4 separate regions of the Homo sapiens genome follow, and all the other regions are linked to region 2. Evidence: promoter capture Hi-C in 16 types of primary human blood cells and fetal thymus (Javierre and others, 2016). All regions are on one chromosome and are shown on one strand. Each heading gives the region's core, a stretch centred on a gene start or on the middle of the fragment in contact. The rest is flanking DNA. Distances are from core to core; before and after follow the strand shown. Region 1 has its middle 28 kb from the start of FA2H. Region 2 holds the start of ZNRF1 (zinc and ring finger 1). Region 3 has its middle 44 kb from the start of FA2H. Region 4 has its middle 24 kb from the start of CTRB2.

Region 1 (5,392 bases), core at 2,300-4,799, 200 kb after region 2:
TAAACGATCTCACTTATATGTGGAATCTAAAAAAGTTGAGCTCATAGAATTAAGAGTAGAATGACTGTTACCAAGTGCTAGGGTAGGGGAACAGTTGGGGAAATGTTAGTCAAAGGGTATACAATTACAGTTCAATAGAAGAAATAAATTCAAGAGCTCTGTTGTACAACATGGTGATTATGGTTAACAACAATGTATTGTATCCTTTAAAATTGCTGAGAGAGTAGATTTTAATGTTCTCACCACAAAAATAAGTATGTGAGTAATACATATGTTAATTAGCTTGACTCAGTGATTCAATAATGTATACATATTTCAAAACATGTTGTACATGATAAATATATACAATTTTATTAGTCAGTCAAATAAATATGCACCTAATAAGAGAGGTCCAAAACATATAAAGCAAAAACTTTAAAAAATTAAAGAGATAAGTAGATAATTCGACAATAATAGTTGGAGCCTTCAATGCCTCACTTTCAACAAAAGATATAACAACTAGGCAGATCAACAAGAAAACAGAAGGCTTGAATAATACTATAAACCAACTAGACCTGACGCATACCTGGAACACTCCACTTAACAACAGCAGAATATACATTCGTCTCAAGTACACATGGGACATTCTCCAGTACAGATCATATGTTAGGTCATAAAAAGAATTTCAGTAATTTCTCAAAGGATTGAAATTATACAAAGTATGTTCTCTAATCACAATGGAGTAAAATTAGAAATTAACAGTGCAGTGGATCACATCTGTAATCCCAGCACTTTGGGAGGCTGAGGTGGGAGGACCACTTGAGCCCAGGAGTTCAAGATTAGCCAGGGCAACATAGTGAGACCCCATCTCTACAAAAATTTTAAAAATTAGCCTGGGGTGGTGGCATGTGCTTGTAGTCCCAGCAACTCAGGAGGCTGAGGTGGGAGGATCATTTGAGCCCAGGAGGTTGAAGCTGCAGTAAGCCATGGTCATGCCATTGCACTCCAGCCTGGGTAGCAGAGCAAGACCCTATCTCAAAAGGAAAGGGCAGGAGAGGAGAGTGGAGGGGAGGGGAGAAGGAGGGGAGGGACAGGGGAGGGGGAAGGGAGGGACAGGAAGGGAAGGGAAAAGAAAGAAAGAAAGAAATTAACAACAAAAAGTACATTGAGAACTTCATAAATATGTGGATATTGAACAGCACACTTTTTTTGTGTGTGTGAGTCAGAGTTTCCCTCTGTTGCCCAGGCTGGAGTGCAGTGGCGCGATCTTGGCTCACTGCAACCTCTGCCTCCCAGGTTCAAGCGATTCTCCTCCCTCAGCCTCCCAAGTAGCTGGGATTACAGGCACCCGCCACCACACCAGGCTAATTTTTGTAGTTTTTAGTAGAGACGGTGTTTCACCATGTTGGCCAGGCTGGTCTCAAACTCCTGACCTCAGGTGATCCTCCTGCCTCAGCCTCCCAGAGTGCTGTGATCACAGGTGTGAGCCACTGCACCAGCTGAACAGCACACTTTTAAATAACAAGTGGGCCAATTAAGAAATGACAAGGGAAATTAGTATCTTTTTCTTTTCTTTTTAATTGACATACAACAATTGTACATATTATGGGGTACATAGTGTTTTGAAAATATTTTGAAATGAATGAAAATGAAGACACAACATCTCAAAACTTATGGGATATAGTGAAGACAGTGCTTAGAGGGAAATTCATAGCTATAAATACCTATATTTAAAAAGAAGAAAGATGTCAAACCAATAACCTAAATTTACACCTTAAGAAACTACAAAAAGAAGAGTAAGCTAAACCCAAAACAAGCAGAGGAAGAAAATAATAAAGATTAAGGTAGAAAGTAATGAAATAGAGAATAAAAAACCGTAGAGAAAATCAACAAAACCAAGAGTCGGTTCTTAGAAAAGATCAACAAAATGGACAAATCTTTAGCTAGGCTGAAGAGAGAGGGAAGGAGACAGAGAACTCAAATTACAAAAATCTTTAGCTAGACTGAAGAGGGAGGGAGGGAGACAGATAGAGAACTCAAATTACAAAAATCAGTAATAAAGAGAGAGCATTACTACAACCTTACAGAAATAAAATAAAAGGACTATTAGGAAATGCTAAGAATAACTGTATGCCAACAAATTAGATAACATATATAAAATGGATACATTCCCAGAAAAACACAAAGTATCAAAACTAACTCAAGAAGGAATAGAAGATCTGAATAGACCTACAATAGATAAAGGTACTGAATTAGTAATTTTGAAAACTATCCACAAAGAAATGCCTAGGCTCAGATTCACTGGTGAACTCTGCCAAACAATTAGAGAATTTATACCAATTATTTGCAATTCATCAAAAAAATAGGGAAGGAGGTAACACTTTCTAATTCATTATGATGCCAGTACCACTCTGATACCAAAGGCATCACAAGAAAAGAAAATTATAGACCAATATCTCTTATGAACTTATAAACAAAAACCTCAATGAAATACTAGCAAACCAAATCCAGCAGCATTTAAAAAGGGTTATACAACACAACCAAATGGGATTAATCCTAGGAATGTAAAGTTCATTTAACATTTGAAAATGAATACTATATCATATCAATAGGATAAAGAAAAAAACACATACTCAGTAGATGCAAAATGAGCATTTAACAAAATTCAATACCATTCATGATAAAACCATTTGACAAACTAGGATTAAAAGAGCATTTCTTCAACCTAATAAAGGACTTCTACAGATATCCCACAGCTAATATCATACTTAATCATGAAAGACTGAGTCATGTCATCTCCCAATAAAGACAATTTGACTTCTTTCTCTCCAATCTGAGTGTCTTTTACTTCTTTTTGTTGCCCATTGCATTGAATATAACGTTTAGTATAATGTTGAATAAAAGTGGTAAGAGTGAAATCCTTGCATTCTGCCTGAAATTAGGGGGAATATATTCAATCATTTACCATTACATTTGATATTAGCTATTGGATTTTTGTAGATATCTTTTATTGGGTTGAAGATGTTCCCTTCCATTCCTCCTTTGATAACTAGATATGATTGGATGATGGAAATGGATTTGACTGGATTTTGTCAAATGCTTTTTCTGTACTTATTGAGAGGATTGCATGGTTTTACATTTTTTAGTTTGTTAATATGGTGAATATTATTAAATTTCTAATGTTAAACCAAGCTTGAATTCCTGAAATTCATGATGTATTATCTCTTGAAAATATTGTTGTATTTTACTTGCATAAGTTTTGTTAAGAATTTCTGCAATAATGTTGATGAGTTGGTCCATAGTTTTACTTCCTTGTAATGTTTTTTGTTTTGCTTTGTTTCAGAGACAAAGTCTTGCTCTGTCACCCAGGCTAGAGTGCAGTGGCATGATCACAGTTCACTATAATCTCAAATTCCTGGGTTCAATTGATCCTCCTGCCTCAGCCTCCTAAGTAGCTGGGACACCAGGTATGTGCCACCACAGCTGTCTAATTTTTTTACTTGTTATAGAGTCAGGGTCTCACTATATTGCCCAGGCTGGTCTCAAACCCCTGGCCTCAAGAGACCCTCCCACCTTGGCTTCCCAAAACACTGGAATTACAGGCATGAGCCACCATGCCTAGCCTTTTAAAATGTTTTTTTTTTTTTCTGGTTTTGTATAAGAGTAATGTTGACTTCAAAGTATGAGTTGGAATGTATTGCTACTTCTTCGAATCTTGGAAGAGTTTGTGTAGAATTGGTATTATTTCTTCCTTACATATTTGGTATTTCTCCTTATGAGAGATATTGAAAAAAATTTGGTAAAACTACCAGTGAAGCCAATATTCCATAGAATTAACCAGTGAAGCCATCTAAAATTTCTTTTGTGTGTACATGTTAAACTATAAATTCAATTTTGTTAACAGTTATAGGGCTGTTTAGGTGATCTATATCTTCTTGAATAAGCTTTGGTAGTTTGTGTCTTCCAAACAATTAGTCTACTTTATCTCATTGTCAAATTTATTGGAGAAAAATCTGTTTGTGATATACCCTTACTAATGTTTTAACAATGACGGATTCTATTGATCTCTCCTCTCCCTTTTTTTCTTTTTTTTGTTGAGATGGAGTCTCATTCTGTCACCCAGGCTGGAGTGCAGTAGTGTGATCTTGGCTCACTGCAACCTCCACATCCTGGGTTCAAGCGATTCTCCTTCCTGAGCCTCCCGAGTAGCTGGGACTACAGCCATATGCCACCACGCCCAGCTAATTTCTGTATTTTTTGGTAGAGACGAGGTTTCACCATGTTGGCCAGGCTGGTCTTGAACTCCTGACCTCAAGTGATCTGCCCACTTCAGCCTCCCAAAGTGCTGGGATTACAGATGTGAGCCACAGCACCCAGCCACCTCTCTCATTCTTGATATTGGTAATTTATGTCTTTTCTCTTTTCTTCCTTATTGGTCTGGCTAGAGATTTCCCAATTTTATTGATCTTCCCAAAGTACTAACTTTGGTTTCATTGTCTCTGTTTTAAATTTTGTTTGCTACTTCATTGATTTCTGCCTTAATCTTTAATATTTCTTTTCTTCTATTTTCTTCGAGTTTAATTTGCTCTTCTGTTTCTACTTTCCTAAACCTGAGGTCATTGATTTGAGAACTTTCATGTTTTCCAGTGCAGGTGTTTGGTGTTTGATGTTTGGTGTTTGGTGCTATAAACTTGAAAGTTCTGCTTTAATTGCATCTAGCACATTTTTATGAGTTATACTTTCTTTTTCATTCAATGCAAAATACTTTCTAGTTTCCCTTTTGAGTTCTTTTTTTTCCCATCAGTTATTTAGAAGCATATTTAGTTTCTAAATATTAGGGTATTTTCAGATATTTTTCTGATAGTGAGTTCTCATTTAATTCCATTGTGGTCAGAGAACATACTTTGCATGACTTAAGTCCTTATACATTGACTGAACTTGCTTTATGGACCAGAATATGGTCTATCTTGATAAAAGTTTCACGCAAACTTTAAAAAAACGTATTTTGCTGCTGTGTGATAGAGTGTTCCATAAATGTCAATTAGTTCAAGTTGTTTTTATAACATTGTTCAAGTCTTCTATACCTTTACTGATTTTGTTTACATAATGTATCAATCATTGAGAGACAGAGGTGCTGAAGTCTCTTGCTATAATTATGAATTGGTTTTTGAATTATGAACAAATTATGAATTTGTTCTCCTTGCAGTTCTGTCAACTTTTCCTTCCTGTATTTTGAATTTCTGCTATTATGGATATAAAAATTTAGGATTGTTTACACTGAAATTCATAGTAACATTGTTCACAATAGCCAAAAGGAGAGAACAACCCAAATGTTCATCAAAAATAAAATGTGGTATATCCATACAATGGAATATTATGCAGCCATAAAATGGAATGAAATTTTCATGTACAC
Region 2 (5,627 bases), core at 3,128-5,627:
TGGCAGGCACAGTGCAGGACCCACAACAGAGATCAAGGAACACAGTCCTGCTCTCACGGAGCTTAGACTTTAGGCAAACCATACACAGAAAAAAGTAAACAGATAAAATACTTACAAAGTGTGTTAAGAATGATTAAGGTGCAGGGCGCAGTGGCTCACGCCTGTAATCCTATCACTTTGGGAGGCCGGGTCAGGCAGATCACCTGAGGTCGGGAGTTTGAGACCAGCCTGATAAACATGGAGAAATCCCGTCTCTACAAAAAACAAAATTAGCCCCAAGCTTATTGGGCATGGTGGCGCATGCCAGTAATCCCAGCTACTCGGGAGGCTGAGGCAGGAGAATTGCTTGAACCCGGGAGGCGGAGACTGCAGTGAGCAGAGGTCGCACCACTGCACTCCAGCCTGGGCAACAAGAGCGAAACTCTGTCTCAAAAAAAAGAATGATTAAGGTAACAGGTGAGTGACTGGAGAGAATAACCGGAGGGGCCAATTTTTAAGAGTGGTCTCTAAGCCCTAAGGGATCAGAAAGAGAAATTCGTGTGAAGAACGGAGAGAAAAGCACTCTAGGATTAGGGAATGGTATACGTGGGGGTCACAGCACAGGGAAGTCAGGAACCTAGAGAAGACAAATGTGACTACAGCGCTTCCTCTCCCGGGATTTGCGGAGCAAGGCTGGAGCTCGTGAGGGTGACCACAACTATTTTAAAAACGACAAAGATAAGGCTCAAGAGAGGGGATATGTCTTGCCCAAGGTCACAGCTGCTCAGAGGAGTAGCTGGGACCAGGGCCCTTCAGTATTCTACCTCCAGACCCAGCCTAAGCCCACGCTCTCTGAGAAGGCCTTGTATACACTGAACTCCCTCATGTATTTCACTGACAACTGTTTTCTGTGCCCATGAAGAGTTGCAAGAGCACCTTGAAAACACAAGCAAACATATCATATCAACTTCCAGGCATCTAATTAATTGTGCACCAAAATCGTTACCCTTCCAATCTTGCAACAGAAGAGCAAAAGCTGCTTAGACCTTACTCAAAGGCTCCAAAGCAGAAACAAGTTTTGCTTCTTGCAGCAATGTGTAACAGAGGAAACAGATGTCCTGGAAGATCCCATGGTCTGTTTCAGGTGAGATGGAACCAATGCTGCACACGAAGATTCATCTCAAATGAAATGCACAGGAAAAGCCAATTACTTTATGTGAATAAAAGAATAAATCCCTAAAGCAGTGGTTCTCAACCAGAGTGATACCACCCACACCCCAGAGGGCATTTGGGAATTCTTGGGGACATTTTGGGGTGACACACTGAACTGCTGGATGCTATCAGCATTTAGTAGGTATGCTCGATGTCTTGCAGAAGGACATGATGGTCCTACACAGTAAGGAATGGATTACCTACAATATTAATAGCAGCCTCCCATACACACTTTTGACACCCTTCCCTAAAGGATTAATATGCTCCAACCTTCCTGTCCCCACAGTTCAGTGGCTCTCCCTACCCTCACCATGATCGGATGAAAAAAAATAAGGTTTCACAGCTTAAGAGTGAAATTCTGGAATCCAACTACAAGCTCATAACTGTAGCATGGAACCTGGTAGTAGCATAATAAATAAATTTTTAGTAAGAGGCTTAAGAAATTTTAGCAAAAAAAGCACTCCCTTTCTTCCTCCCTACATATCTCATATGTTTTTCAACACAAAAAATTCTGTGATTTTAGAGAAACTTCTTACAGTACTTTTAAGTTCAAAACCAGATGCTCATTACAGTTCTTTTAAACACCAAACTAGTCATCTCAAAAATATGGCTAACTCTCTGGACTAAATTCCATAGGAAAAATTATTAATTTCAAAATGCCTAATTTTGATCAAATGCCTGAAAGAGCCAAAGGCAATCATGTCCTGCTTCTCACTCAGGGCAGAGTTCCATGAGGTCAGAAAAGCTCCAATGATATCCGGAGGTCTGTCAGAGATTAAAATATCATCCTAACAATTCACAAGCTACTTCTAAGTGTTACCCTAAATTAGTCACTAATCGTTTCTCCCCCAACACTATTTCACAAATTAAAGTTTACAGAATTGACAAAAAACCAAACCAAATGAAAACAAACCCCAGGCTATTTGCAGGGGGGGGGAAAGAGATACCCCAAAAGTCAACCCTATTTCACAGTAGTTAAAAGAGTGATCCAACAGATATTACCCTCCATAAAGTACCCTAAAGGCAGGAGCAATCTTTCCCCTACACTATCTAAATTTTCCCAACTCACCCAAAAGAATCTTAAGATGTAACTTCATCACTCAACTTGCCAATTAGCAAATAGCGGCCCCCACATCCCTTTTGGCCAATTTTCTAGATGCCTGACCTAGCAGACAGACCTGTTTTCCTCCTGCCAGGCCTTTTTTGCCCTCCCGCTAGGAGCCTGGGAAATCCCCCTCCAACCTTTTGCTGGCCTGTCACCAGAAGTTCATAAAATGAATTCATCCAGATTCTCTGAATCCTCCTTTTCCCCAGTCATGTGCCAACAGCCAGGCAATAATGCCCCACCGTGACAGGCTCCCTGTTACAAAAAGATGCAGATTCACGGGAAGACCAAGCACTTAGCATGGAGCAGAAGAAAAAAAGATGGAGGGAGGCGAGAGTCGCGGAGCCAAGCCTGCTGCATGCAGTACGGGTGACCACAGCCCGGGTCCTGCAAAGCCCCCGCGAGACTCGCCGGCTGGGCCCTCCGTACAGCAGCCACACCTGTCTATGCCAGCCGCCTGCCGGCTGCTCCATTTTAAACATTTCAAACAGATCTCCAGCAGGGTGGCAAAACTGGGCACCTCTCTCTCCCAGCAAGAGTGAGAGCCCTAATCCAGGCATCACTTGCCCCTGATTTTATTTCATTTTCACACACTCTGTTTAGGAGACACTGCTTGCTCCAACTGGCTCCATCTCTCCGTTACCGGTGAGGCAGGCACAGTGCTGCAGTGGCAGAATGGAAGTACCCAGGCTGACTTGCTCTCAGCCAGACACGACCTCTTCTCTGAGGAGGGTGATGCCAATAAATGGAACTCCAATAGGTAGGCTTCGCTCTGCCCTTCCACAAGTGAACACACGCCGTGAGTCCCTAAATCGCCAGGCTCCGCAGCCTCGCAGAAAGCCTAGTTTCCAGACGGTAGGTATCCCATTTATCCCTTGGCATCGGGAACCAAAGGGAATGCAGACAGATCCCGGTCGTGCACTACATTCCCAAACCTTGGCACGCACGCGAAGGCTTGGGGCGCCCCGGCGCGCCCTCCCTCCGAGGCCTCCACCACCCGCGGACTCACCACTATGCGAGCTGAACCACCTGGGTGCGATGTGCAGAGGTAGAGCATCCGCCAGCGAGGCTCGGGAGCCCAGGTACAGCATCCCGTCTCTATGGTGACCGCCGCCCGTCTCCTGGTAACCATTGCCATGGGCATAGGTGGAGTCGGACGCAGACCCTCCGCCGCCGGGCGCCCTCTCGGAGTCGCCGGTGCCCCGGGAGGCGGGGGTGTAGAGGCCAAAGGGCACCCCCCCGGCCGTGCTGGGGTCCATGCCCATGCCTGCCACCGAGCTGACCGAGCGGCTGCGCAGCCCCATGGCCCCGCCGCCCGTCCGGTAGTGCCCGAAATGGGGCGCCCCTCCCGGCGGCGGCACGGCGCTGTCATCGGTGGAGACCCCCGGGAAGGGGCCCCGGGAGCGGGCCGCCGTGCTCTGCTTGCCCCCCATGCTCGCCCGGGCCCCGGTGGGGCGGGAACCTGGAGGCCGAGACCCTCCCCCACTTCTCAGCAGCAGGGGGAGGGCTGGGCGAGCATAAAGGGGGAGGGAGTCAAAAAGGAGACCCGGAGGGAGAAAAGGAAAAAAAGCAAAAGGAAAAAAGGAAAAAACCCGCGGGGCGGAAGAGGCAGGCGGGCGGGCGGGGATCCCAAACTCAGAATTTCAAACGATCCAAGGCAAACGCATGTTTCCCCTCAAGGTCCAAAGAGGCGCAGTCCGGCGCGGGCTCCGCGCGCCACAGGCCGCCCCCGGGCTCCGAAAGCCGGGGGAGCCGCAGGGAAGGAGGGAGGGAGGCGGCGGCGAGCGGCGGGCGGGCGCGGGGAGGCGCCGGAGGAGGCCGCCCGCCCCGCGGGAGGAGGCGGAGGAGGGCCGGGGGCGCCGGGCGCGTCCCCCGCCTCAGGACGCCGCGACCATGGACGGCGGCCCGGACCCCTCCAGGCCTCGGGCGGGCCGCGGCGCTGGGCGGCCAGGCGCAGCTCGGGAAGCCGCGGTCGCGTCGCGTCGCGCTCTCGCTTCAGCCGCCGCCGGCCCCGCCAGCCGCGCCGCCCCGCTCGGTCCCGGGCTGCGCTCGCCGGCGCTCCTCGCCGCCGTGGAGACAATGGAGGGCGGCAGAGCGCAGGCGCGGCCCGCGCCCCCTCCCCCTCCCCCCGCCGGGTTAACCCTTTCGCGGTCCCTGCGGCGCCTGGGCCGCTGACGCCCCAGCAGTCCCCACCCACCGCCCGCCCCCGGCCGGCCTGTGACCTGGGCGGCCTGACCACTGGGCGTTAGCCACAGAAACCAGATGTCTTTCAAAAGCAAACACTTCTTAAGTCCCCGAAAGTGGCAAATTATTCAGGGGGAACCAAGTATGGGGGAGGGGCAGCAATGGTTCGAGGGGGTGGGAAGGAAACACCGGGAAGAAGGAGATTTACTCCTTACGCCTACCTGGCTCTGAGGGTCACCGGTCGAGCTCCCCTCCTGGCACAAATTTGCCCCCACAGCACCCTCTGGTGGACGTGATGTCCATTCTTTCGGGGGTTCCCCATCCAAGCACCCCTCACGTCCGGAATCTCAACATTTGGCGGGGTTTAGTTATTTGGGGGTAAACAGCGCCATGGGGACACTTGTGAATCCGGCGTTTTGCTGACACTAGATCATAACTTCCTATTTTGGGCTTAAGCAAATGAGTAGATTCCTTAGCTAAAATGTAATTTTCAGAATCAATAGATGTACCATAAAAAGTGAATAGATATGGGTATGGAAATAGAACAACGCAGCTAGAAGTGATTATAGAAACCTTCTGTCCAAGGCTGGAGCCCTGTTTTGTTTACCATGTGCTGTGTTTCGGCCCTCACCACGGGCCAAGGACACGGTGGGTACTCAATAGGTGTATTGTTGACCAAGCCTGAATCATTTGCAAGGGAGTGTTCCTTTGCTACCTCAAGCCGTCTTTCTCCTATATTCACATTCATTTATTGAACAACTGTTTTTTTTGTTTTGTTTTGTTTTTGTTTTTGAGACGTAATCTCGCCCTGTCACCCAGGCTGGAGTGGTGTGGCGTAACCTCGGCTCACCGCAACCTCCGCCTCCCGGATTCAAGTGATTCTCCTGCCTCAGCCTCCCGAGTAGCTGGGATTACAGGCACATGCCACACTGCACCTGGCTAATTTTTTGTATTTTTAGTAGAGGCGGGGTTTCACCGTATTGGCCAGGCTGGTCTTGAACTCCTGACCTCAGGTAATCCACCTGCCTTGGCCTCCCAAAGTGTTAGGATTACAGGCATGAGCCACCGCGCCCGCCCTGTTTTTCTTTTTCTTTTTTTTCTTTTCTTTTTTTTTTTTTTTGAGACGGAGCCTTGCTCCTCCCAGGCT
Region 3 (5,995 bases), core at 2,087-4,586, 180 kb after region 2:
CCTCAACCAAACCCAACCCAAACCTTAAAGCCAGTCTTAGAATAGACTTTTTTCTTAGAATACTCTAGAATAGTGATTCTGCCCAATACCCCTTTCCTATCCCCTCTCCTACTCCTTCTGAGCTTGACTGGCTCCTTGAGGCACATTGCCTGGATGGGTCTCCCTAAAGTGTCTGATGTTGGTAGGATGGAACAAGGGTAAGCAGGTTTCTTCATTGCAGGATTTTTCAGGACCTTTAATAGGTATTTTGACTCTCTAGGAGAAGAATAAAATTGCAGAGTTGCTCAAATTTACTTGGCCATTAAATTTATTTCTCATCAATATCTCAGAGGACTGGTGTTGGACGGGACACTGTTATAGTTTGGGTTTTCCAGAAGCAAGACCTGAAATGGTGATTCTTGTGTACATGATTTTTGAGGGAGGGATCTCTGGAGAAACTTGTATAGGGCAGGGAATAAGCCAAGCAAAGATGCAAGTTCAAGCTAAGTTTAGCCTTAGCCCAACCCCACAGGGACCACTGGAGTATAATAAACTCTACTACAGAGGTTGCCCCTGTACCCCTGCCAAGATAAGGGGGCTGGGCTGTTACATACCCACCTCCATTAGTCATTGGCCACAGGCTGCGCCCTGAAGATGGTGCATAACCTTCAAGGCATCTCCAGACAAGGCGCTCTATCCACCAAGAGCAAGAGAAAGAGGTAGGTGTGAGCAGTGGCAACACCCAGGAGCTAGAGGGCAAGGTGTACCAGCCCAGGAAAGAAAATACGGGCAGGGCACCAGGTCTGCTACCGTCACACTTTGGGAAAGACAGCATGGCACCTCAGTCCTGTCTATGGCTTCTCCCCAAGGCTGCATGAGAATCAGACTACTCTTTGGACAAATATTCATCTGGCTGTTCTCATGTCACATTTTCCTTATCTCTAAGGTAGAGAGAAATTATCTTGGAGATACCTTATCAAGATGAAGAGGATTCAGAGCAATTAGGCAAGAGAATGAAATAAAGGGCATCCAGATTGGAAAGGATAAAGTCAAATTGTCCCTGTTGGCAGACAACGTAATCTTATATATAGAAAAACTTAAAGACTCTACCAAAAGACGCTTAGAACTAATAAATAAATTCTCTAAAGCTGCAGGATACAAAAATCAACACACAAAAACCAGTAGTGTTTCTATACACAAACAACAAACTACCTGAAAAATAAATCAAGAAGTCAATCCCATTTACAGTAGCTACAAAAATTAAAATATTTACGAATAAATTTAACCGAGGGGGTGAAAGACATCTACAAGGGAAACTACAAAACACTGATGAAAGAAATTGAAGAGGATAAAAACAGGCAGAAAGACCTCCCATGCTCATAGATGGAAGAATCAATATTGTTAGAATGACCATACCACTCAAAGCAATCTACAGATTCAGTGCCATTCTTATTAAAATACCAAAGACATTCTTCAATGAAATAGAAAAGAAAATCCTAAAATTTGTATGGAATCACAAAAGACCCCAAATAGCCAAAGCAATCCTGAGCAAAAGGAACAAAGCTGGAGGTATCACACTACCAGACTTCAAAACATACTACAAAGCTATAGTAACCAAAACAGCACAATAGACACAAACTAGTGGAACAGGGAATGCAAAAATTAATCCATGTATCTATAGCCAACTGATTTTTGACAAAGGTGCCAAGATCACTCACTGGGGAAAGGACAATCTCTTCAATAAATAGTGCCAGGAAAACTGGGTATCCATATGCAGAAGAACAAAGCTAGACACTCATCTCTCATGCTATACAAAAATCAACTCAGAGTGGATCAAAGAACTAAAGGTAAGACCCAAAATATAAAACTACTAGAAGAAAACATAGGGGAAATGCTTTAGGACATTAGTCTGCGGAAATATTTTATGAATAAGACCTCAAAAACACAGGCAACAAAAGCAAAAATAAACAAATGGGATTACATCAAACTAAAAAGCTTCTGCATAGCAAAGGAAACAATAGAGTGAAAAGACAACCTACAGAATGGGAGAAGATATTTGCAAACTATTCATCTGACAGGAGATTCATATTCAGAATATACAAGGAATTTAAACATCTCAACAGCAAAAAAACAAAAAACAAATCTGATTTTAAAATGGTGATTTGAACAGATATTTCTCAAAAGAAGACATACAAATGGGCCAACAAATAGATGGAAAAAATGCTCCATGTAACTAATCATCCGGGAAATGCAAATCAAAGCCACAGTGGAGTATCATCTCACCCCAGCTAGAATGGCTGTTATCAAAAAGACAAAAAACAAATGCTGGCAAGGATGTGGGGAAAAGGGAACTCTTATACACTGCTGGTGAAAATGTAAACCAGTAAGCCCGGGCACAGTGGCTCATGCCTGTAATCCCAGCACTTTGGGAGGCCGAAGCGGGCAGATCTCCTGAGGTCAGGCGTTCAAGACCAGCCTGGCCAACATGGTGAAACCCCATCTCTACTAAAAATATAAAAAATTAGGCCTGGTGGCAAGCTCCTGTAATCCCAGCTACTCGGGAGGCTGAGGCCGGAGAATCGCTTGAACCTGGGAGGTGGAGGTTGCAGTGAGCTGAGATCATACCACTGCACTCCAGCCTGGGTGACAGAACGAGACTCCATCTCCAAAAAAAAAAAAAAAAATGTAAACCAGTAAAGCCACTATGGAGACCAGTATGGAGGCTCCTCAAAAAACCACAAGTAGAGCTACCATAAGATCCAGCAATCCCACTACTGGACATTTATCCAAAGGAAAGGAAATCGGTCTATCAAGGAGATCTGCATCCCCATGGTTACTGCAATACTATTCACAATAGCCAAGATATGGAATCAACCTAGGTGTCCATCAACAGATTAATGGATAAAGAAAATGTGGTATGTACACAATGAAATGTTATTCAGCCATAAAAAGAATGAAATCCTGTCATTCGTGGCAACATGGATGGAACTGGAGGACATTACGTTAAGTGAAACAAGCCAGGGATAGAAAGTTAAACACTGCATTTTCTCACTCATGTGGAAGCTAAAAAAAAGTTGATCTCATGGAAGTTGAAAGTAAAACTTTCTACTAGAGGCTGGGAAGGGTGGGGAAAGGGTGGCAAAAGGAGACCTTTGTTAAAGGATACAAAATTACAGCTAGATAGGAGGGAAAGTTCATCAGTTCTCTGAATAAACCACTGTAAGATGACTATAGTTAACAAGAACACGTAGTTTCAAATAGCCAGGAGGATATTGAATATTCACAACACTAATAAAAGATAAATGCTTGAGATGATGGATATGTGGAATATGGAATTATCCTAATCTGATCACCACGTATTATATGTTTGAAACATCACTATGTACCTCATAAATAGGATTATTATGTATTAATTTAAAAAAAGATGAAGGGGAAACTTCATCTTGAGGTTACTAGACTATGAAGTCAGGACCAATGTGTGTATATAGAGTAGAGGAGGTTTCTTAGGGAAATGGGCTTTTCAACAAGACCATGAACTTTTTTGGTTTAGAAGGAACAGGGGGAGGAATAGAAAAACTCTCAGTGCTCCAAAATAGGGACGGAGCAGGGTCTGTTAGAGATAGGGGCTCTCGCTTGAATTTCTTGGGTGTGCTACTTCTGGAAGCAGGGCAGGCAGTAATGCTTGGAGTTCTTGGGGTGGGGGATAAGGAACTAGCGGCTGTGTGGCCCTGGCTATCAGAGAGGACAAGAAGATGTGCACTCAGCTAGGGGCATGGGGCACATTCAGATCAAGATCAAGGGACTCTGGAATCCACGTTTCTGCCCTCAGCGGCTCCACCTTGGGTTCTCGGCAGAGCCCAAGCACCACTAAGTGGCACTAGAGGGAGACTGAAATGCTGGAAGATGGGAGAAGGCAGCAGCTTCATCCTGTTCTGCTCTCCATTCCCGCCAACGTCACCACAGCATCTGTTCTTTACCCTGAGAGTGACACTTTTTTTTTTTTTTTTTTTTTTTTTTGAGTCAGCGTCTGGCTCTGTCGCCCAGGCTGGAGTGCAGTGGCACTGTGTCGGTTATAGCCACCTCCCAGACTCAAGCGATCCTCCCACCTCAGCCTCCCAAGTAGCTGGGATCACAGGCCCAATCTACCACGCCTGGCTAATTTTTGTTTTTGTTTTTTTGTAGAGACAGGGTTTTGCCATGTTGCCCAGGCTGGTCTTGAACTCCTGGACTCAAGCAACCCACCCGCCTCGGCCTCCAACAGTGCTGGGATTAGAGGCATGAGCCATTGTGCCTGGCCCTCTGAGAGTGACACTTTTTATGCTCCCCAAGCCAGCTTCATCACCCCCATCAGAGAAAGCAGCAGCAGCCAGGCAGTGCCCACTCCATAAGGATCTGGGTCCTGGCTCTCAGGACCATCCATCCACCTTCTAAGGCACCAGCACCCGCCTGGCAGTGCCCTCTCCTCGGAAGCCTGAGCTGAGGTTTCCCCCTAGACTCCCCTATCTATTCCTAGGTTCTAATAAACCCACCTCTCCCCCTTGTTCTCCCAGTCCTTGGGGTGGGAGTTACTTCCTGAAGTTACAATGTCTGTCTTTTGTCCTTTCCTCCAGTATTTGTTAATTCTCTCTGTTAAATTCTCTCTGCTAAGATAACTATTGTGGTTGCTGTTTTCCTGAATGGACCATGATTGATATGCTTACTAAACAATTCAAAGCTTCCTGGGGCTCAGTGGGGCCATGGATGGCTTCTGGAGGACCTCAGATCAAATGGGAGAGACTAGGGCAAAGATCATAAGGAAAAAATGGAGAGGGTCAGGCCAGATTTGACTGGCTGGGAGACAGAATCCCATGTGGACTGTGGGAAGCATCTGAAAGGATTACTATCTCTAAAGAGTTATTTTCAGCATCAAATCCTCTACAAGACCCCCAAACTCATCTTGTCCCTCCAGTCCCTTCCTAGGCAGCATCCCTAAAACCCCACCCCTTCGCCTGTGGCAGGACCCTGTCTTGTCCTCATTTCTGCACACTTATGTCACTGTTCATCTCCTCCCACCCTCAGGCCTCACAGGACTTATTTGTGGTCACCATATCAGACTGGGTTAGCTCAGTGTGGGGGCTGCTGGCACTTTGTTCATTGCTGCAACACTACTACCTGGCACATCACCCGGTTACTTCTCTTGGTTTGTCCCTGGGTTGCCACAAAGAACTTTCTCCTTCCAGCAGTTTCCTCATGCATTGCCCCAGGGTTTCTGTAGGCATCCTATCCGGGAATACTGCTTGACCCAGATTTCAAGATCACCTGGAAGGCTCTGGCAGTCTTTTCTTATAATATCCACTTTCATCAGGGTGTCCACCAGACAAATAAGTATTTCCAATTCAGGTGGTAGAAGTGGAAATTGTCATTTAAGATTCTGTTAATCTAGGATTATGTCCTCTTCTTTCTCACAGACAACAGGAACTTCGCTCCTAAGCTCCAGAAGTGATTTTGAAACATCTTTCAGTTATAGGCAGGGCTGAGCTTGTGGATGTGTGACCTGTGTAAATCACACAGGTCCCTGTGGTTGGTTTAATGCTCTGTTGTCCCCATCTTGAAATTCTTAATCATTTTTGAAGAAAAGGTCCTGCAATTTGATTTTGCACTGGGCCCTGCAAATTATGTATCTGATCCTGGATATATGGTGTGTGAAATCCTAGCAAAAGGCTATAGAGAACATTTGCATATTGAACTATGAACACAACTTGCCCCACATACTGTTCGCTCTAAACCCTGGGCTTCTGCTTGGGACAGGAAAATGATGGGAGAGTACAGCTCCCTGGAGCTGGGTCTCTATTAGACATGAGAGTCTCTGGTCCAGGCTCTGGGTAGGACAGCCAGGTCTGTCCCCATCATCTCCAGATTGTAGCATCATTTCTCCCCTACATCCAACTGCATCCTCAACAAGTGTGTGGCAGCCAGGTAGTAACAGGCAGAAGGGACAGAGCACAGGAACCAGGGGCTCATCACGGACAATCAGCAT
Region 4 (5,375 bases), core at 266-2,765, 180 kb before region 2:
TTTTGTATTTTTTTTTAGTAGAGACAGAGTTTCACTGTGTTGGCCAGGCTGGTATCGAACTCCTGACCTCAACTGATGGACCAGCCTCGGCCTTCCAAAGTGTTAGGATTATAGGCGTGAGCCACCGTGCCCGGCCAGAATTTCCTATGTATTAATGAACATTCCCTATACTTTTCTACTTCACCCTTTAACACTGGTCCTGGGGGTGGGAAGATGTCCTTCTCGCTGCTTCCAGACCATTCTCCTTTCATCTTCTCTGACACCCCATGGCATGGATGCTCAGGCCATCAGACCGTACCACGTGATACTTAAAGCAGTCATCTTCTGATCCCTGGATCTCTTAAATTTTAGTTCCCACTCTAACACTACCATCTGAATTGATAATTTTAATGCTTATGTAGATTTAATACTTGGCTTTTCAGTTTCTTCATCTCCACTTTTCCAATGAGCCTGTACTCCTCCCTCCTTCAGCCAGTTATTCTCGGACACATTAATCTTGCTACTAGTAATAGCAACCTGTTTGTAATGTTTCATGCATTCCTCACTCAACCAGATTTTCTCTAGTACCCTAACAATCCTACCCCATGGAAACATAGTCTTTTCAGTCTACCACTTTTCACACTCCTTTATCCCCTCAAGTTCTTTAGATTTGTTTTTCATTAACTTTTAAAAACTGACTTATAAAATTGTGTTTATTGGGGCCAGGTGTGGTGCCTCATTGCCTGTAATCCCAGCACTTTGGAAGGCCAATGTGGGTGGATCACCTGATTGGCCAACAAGGCAAAATTCCATCTTTACTAAAAATACAAAAATTAGCCAAGCATGGTGGAGCACGCTTGTAGTTCCAGCTACTTGGGAGGCCGAGGCAGGAGAATTGCTTGAACCTGGGAGGTGGAGGTTGCTGTGAGCCGAGATTGCACCACTGCACACCAGCCAGGGTGACAGGGCAAGACTGTCTTAAAAAAAAAAAAAAAAAAAAAAAAAAAGTATGTTTATTGTATCTAACATGATGTTTACAAATGTATACATTGCAGAATGACTAAATCAGACTAATTTACATATGTATTACATGTATTTTTGTGGTGTGAATATTTAAAATCTACTCATTGATTTTTCCGGAATATATTACAGTCAGGCACAGTGATACAGCCTGTAGTCCCAGCTACTTAGGATGCTGACGTGGGAGAATTGCTTGAGCCCAGGAGTTTGAGACCAGCCTGGGCAACATAGTGAGACCTCCTCTCTTAATAGATCTCTCTTTTTTTTTTTTTTTTGAGACAAAGTCTTGCTCTCTCGCCCAGGCTGGAGTGCAGCGGCACGATCATGGCTCAGTGCAAGCTCTGCCTCCTGGATTCACGCCATTCTCCTGCCTCAGCCTCCTGAGTAGCTGGGACTACAGGCGCCCACCACCACGCCCGGCTAATTTTTGTTTTTGCATTTTTAGTAGAGACGGGGTTTCACCGTGTTAGCCAGGATGGTCACAATCTCCTGACCTCGTGATCCGCCCGCCTCGGCCTCCCAAAGTGCTGGGATTACAGGCTTGAGCCACGGCGCCTGGCCAATAGATTAAATTTATTCCTCCTATTAAACTGAAATTGTGTATCTTTTCACCAACATTTCTCTTATCCCCTCCCACACCCCTAGCCCCTGGTAATCACTATTCTGTTCTCTGCTTCTATGAGTTCAACTTTTTTAGATTCCACATATAAGTGAGGTCATGTGGTATTTGTCTTTCCATGCCAGGCTTATTTCACTTAGCATAAAGTCCTCTAGGTTCACCCATGTTGTGGCAAATAAGTTCCTTTATTTTTTGAGACAGGGTCTTGCTCTGTCACTCAGGCTGGAGTATAATGGTGCAATATTGGCTTGCTGCAACCTTTGTATCCAAAGCTCTAATGATCTTGCTGCCTCAGCCTCCCAAGTAGCTAGGACTACAGGCATGTGCCACCATGCCTGGCTAATTTTTGTTTTGTATTTTTAGAGAAAGGGTTTTGTCATGTTGGCCAGGCTGGTCTTGAACTCCTGGACTCCAGCAATCTACCCGACTCAGCCTCCCAAAGTGCTGTGGTTACTGGCATGAGCCACTGCACCTGGCCAGAGCTTCCTTCTTTAAAGCTCAGTAGTATTCCATTGTGTATGTAGAACACATCTTCTTTATCCATTCATCCATTGATAGTTAGGTTGATTTCATATCTTGGCTGTTGTGAATAATGCTGCAATGAACATGAAAGTGCAGATATCTCTTTGACAGACTAATTTCGTTTCCTTTGGATATATACCCAGTAGTGGAATTGCTGGGTCACATGGTAGTTCTATTTAAGTTATTGAGGAGCTTCCATAGTATTTTCCATAATGGCTGTACTAATTTACATTCTCATCAACTTTGTGAGACTTCCTTTTTCTCCACATCCTCACACACACTTTTTTTTTTGGAGACGGAGTTTCGCTCTTGTTGTCCAAGCTGGAGTGCGATCCTGTGATCTTGGCTCATTGTAACCTCTGCCTCCCGGGTTCAAGCAATTCTCCTGCCTCAGCCTCCCAAGAGCTGGGATTACAGGAGGTGCAGGGCACCACGCCCGGCTAATGTTTTCTATTTTTAGTGGAAACGGGGTTTCACGATGTTAGCCAGGCTGGTCTCGAATTCCTGACCTCAGGTGATCCACCCGCCTCGGCCTCCCAAAGTACTGGGATTATAGGCATGAGCCACCGCACTTGGTCCATATTTATTCACTGTTTTGCTAATAGCCATTCTAACAAGGTGTGAGGTGATACCTCATTGTAGTTTTAATCTGCGTTTCCCTGATAATTAATGACACTGAGCATTTTTTCATATACCTGTCAGGCATATGTAAGTCTTCTTTTTGAGAAGTGTCTATTTAGGTCCTTTGCTCTTTAATTGGGTTATTTGTTTTCTTGCTATTGAGTTGTCTGAGTTCCTTATATTTTAGATATCCCTTATCAGACTATGATTTGCAAATAATTCTCCCCATTCTAAAGGTTGTCTTTTCACTCTTTTGATTGTTTCCTTTTCTGTGCAGGAGCTTTTTAGTTGGATGTAATCTCATTTGTCTGTTGTTGCTTTTGTTGCCTGTGCTTTTGAAGTCAGATTAAAAAAAAAAAATTGACCAGATCGATGTCATGGATCCCTGCTTTCTTCTAGTCGTTTTACAGTTTCAGGTCTTACATTTAAGTCTTTAGTTTATTTTTCTGTATTTCGTTATTTTATATGTGAACGTCCAGCATTTACTGAAGAGATTGTCCTTTGCCCATTATGTGTTCTTGGCACCTTTTGTCAAGAATCAGTTGACTGTAAATGCGTGGATTTATTTCTGGGAGCTCTGTTCTATTCCGTGGGTCTATGTGTCTGTTTTGATGCTAATATGCTGTTTGGTTACTATACCTTTGTAGTGTATTTTGAATTCAACTAGTGATATGGTTTGGATTTGTGTCCCCACCCAAATGTCATGTCGAATTGGAGGAGGGGCCTGGTGGGAGGTGATTGGATCATGGGGGTGGATTTCTCCCTTGCTGCTTTCCTGATAGTGAGTTCTCATGAGATCTAACGGTTTACAAGTGTGTGGCACTTCCCCCTTTGCTAGCATGCTCTCCGGTTACCATGTGAAGAAGCTGCTTGCTTCCCCTTTGCCTTCCACCATGAGTATAAGTTTCCTGAGGCCTCCCAGTCATGCTTCTTGTTAAGCTTGTGGAACTGTGAGTCAATTAAACTTTTTTTCATAAATTGCCCAGTGTCAGGTAGTTCTTTATAGCAGTGTGAGAATGCACTGATACAGTTAGTATGAAGCCTCAAGCTTTGTTCTTTTTGTTCAAGACTGCTTTGGGTATTTGGGGTCTTTTGTGGTTACATACAAGTTTTAGGATTGTTTTTTCTATCTCTGTGGAAAATATAATTGGAATTTTGATAGGCATTGCATTGAACCTGTAGATTGCTTTGGACAGTGTGAACATTTTAACAATATTCCTCCAATCCAGGAACACAGGATAGTTTTCCATTTAATTGTATCTTCAGTTTCTTTTATCTGCGTCTTACAGTTTTTGGTGTACCAGTCTTTCATCTCCTTGGTTAAATTTATTCCTAAGTATTTAACTTTGTGTAGCCATTGTAAATGGGATTGTCTTACTGACTTCTTGTATAGATAGGTCATTGTTTATATAAAACACTACTGATTTTTGTACGTTGATTTTTGTATCCTGCAACTTCATTCATTCATTAGTCCTGAAAGTTTTCTGGTGGACTCTTTAAGGTTTTCTATATGAGATCATAGCATCTGCAAACATGGACAATTTACCTTCTTTCTTTCCCGTCTGGAAGCCTCATTTTTTTCTCTTGCCTAACTGTTCTGGCTAGGACTTCCAATACTGTGTTGAATAGAAGTAGTGAGAGTGGACATTCTTGTCTTGTTCCTGATAGTAGATGAAAAGCTTTCTCTTTTTTTTTTTTTTTTTTTTTTTTTTTTGACACAGACTCACTCTGTTGCCCAGGCTGGAGTGCAGTGGCTCCATCTTGGCTCACTGCAACCTCTGCCTCCCAGGTTCAAGCAATTCTCCTGCCTCAGTCTCCCAAGTAGCTGGAATTACAGGGCTGCACCACCACACCTGGCTAATTTTTGTATTTTTAGTAGAGACAGGGTTCCGCCATGTTGGCCAGGCTGGTATTGAACTCCTAACCTCAAGTGATCCGCCTGCCTTGGACTCCCAAGGGACTGGGATTACAGGTGTTAGCCACTGTGCCCAGCCAGATAAAAAGCTTCCAACTGTTCACTATTAAGTATGTTAGCTGTGGGCTTGTCATATATGGCCTGCCTTGTGCTGAGGTACATTCTTTCTATATCTATTTTGAGAGTTTTTATTATGAAAAGATGTTGAGTTTTGTCAAATGCTTTTTCTGCATCTATTAAGGTGATCAGAATAGATTTTGTCCTTCATACTGTTAATGTGGTAGATCACATTTATAGACTTGTGTATGTTGAAACATCCTTACATCCCTGGGATAGATCCCACTTGATCATAGTGAATTGTCTTTCAATGTGCTGTTGAATTTGGTTTGCTGGTATTTTGTTGAGGGTTTTTGCATCTATGTTCATCAGGGATACTGGCCTGTAATTTTTTTTTTTCTTCCAGTGCCCTTGTCTGGCTTTGGTATCAGGGTAATGCTGGCTTCATAAAATAAGTTTGAAGGTGTTCCCCCTTGTTCAATTTTTTTGGATGAGTTTGAAAAGAATTGGTATTAGTTCTTTAAATGTTAAGTAGAACTCAGTACTGACACCATTAAGTCCTGCGCTTTTCTTTGATGGATTTGTAATTCAGCCTCTTACTGAGTTTGTTGTTGATGTTGTTTTTGAAATGGAGTCTCATTC

What was found. Contacts are between HindIII fragments. The CHiCAGO score rates a contact against its expected background, and 5 or more counts as called.
Region 1: a fragment that was not itself captured here is called in contact with the fragment with the promoter of ZNRF1 in region 2 in 1 of 17 cell types (M1 macrophages); the score reaches 5.5 in M1 macrophages.
Region 3: a fragment that was not itself captured here is called in contact with the fragment with the promoter of ZNRF1 in region 2 in 1 of 17 cell types (fetal thymus); the score reaches 5.2 in fetal thymus.
Region 4: a fragment that was not itself captured here is called in contact with the fragment with the promoter of ZNRF1 in region 2 in 2 of 17 cell types (M1 macrophages and M0 macrophages); the score reaches 6.0 in M1 macrophages.

Annotation. Positions count from the first base shown.
Region 1 is chr16:74,800,621-74,806,012 of GRCh38, reverse strand. No RefSeq gene overlaps it. Among named protein-coding and RNA genes, the nearest start is that of FA2H, 28 kb to the right of the region's middle. The HindIII fragment of the contact is 752 bases long and covers 3,174-3,925 here.
Region 2 is chr16:74,997,774-75,003,400 of GRCh38, reverse strand. ZNRF1 (zinc and ring finger 1) reads right to left here and starts at 4,377. Exons shown (of 5, transcript NM_032268.5): 1 at 3,306-4,377. The coding sequence starts at 3,729. RefSeq lists an enhancer at 2,506-2,565 and silencers at 3,356-3,665, 4,066-4,585. The HindIII fragment of the contact is 6,289 bases long and covers 283-5,627 here.
Region 3 is chr16:74,815,873-74,821,867 of GRCh38, reverse strand. No RefSeq gene overlaps it. Among named protein-coding and RNA genes, the nearest start is that of FA2H, 44 kb to the right of the region's middle. The HindIII fragment of the contact is 2,719 bases long and covers 1,977-4,695 here.
Region 4 is chr16:75,180,076-75,185,450 of GRCh38, reverse strand. No RefSeq gene overlaps it. Among named protein-coding and RNA genes, the nearest start is that of CTRB2, 24 kb to the left of the region's middle. The HindIII fragment of the contact is 4,375 bases long and covers 1-3,702 here.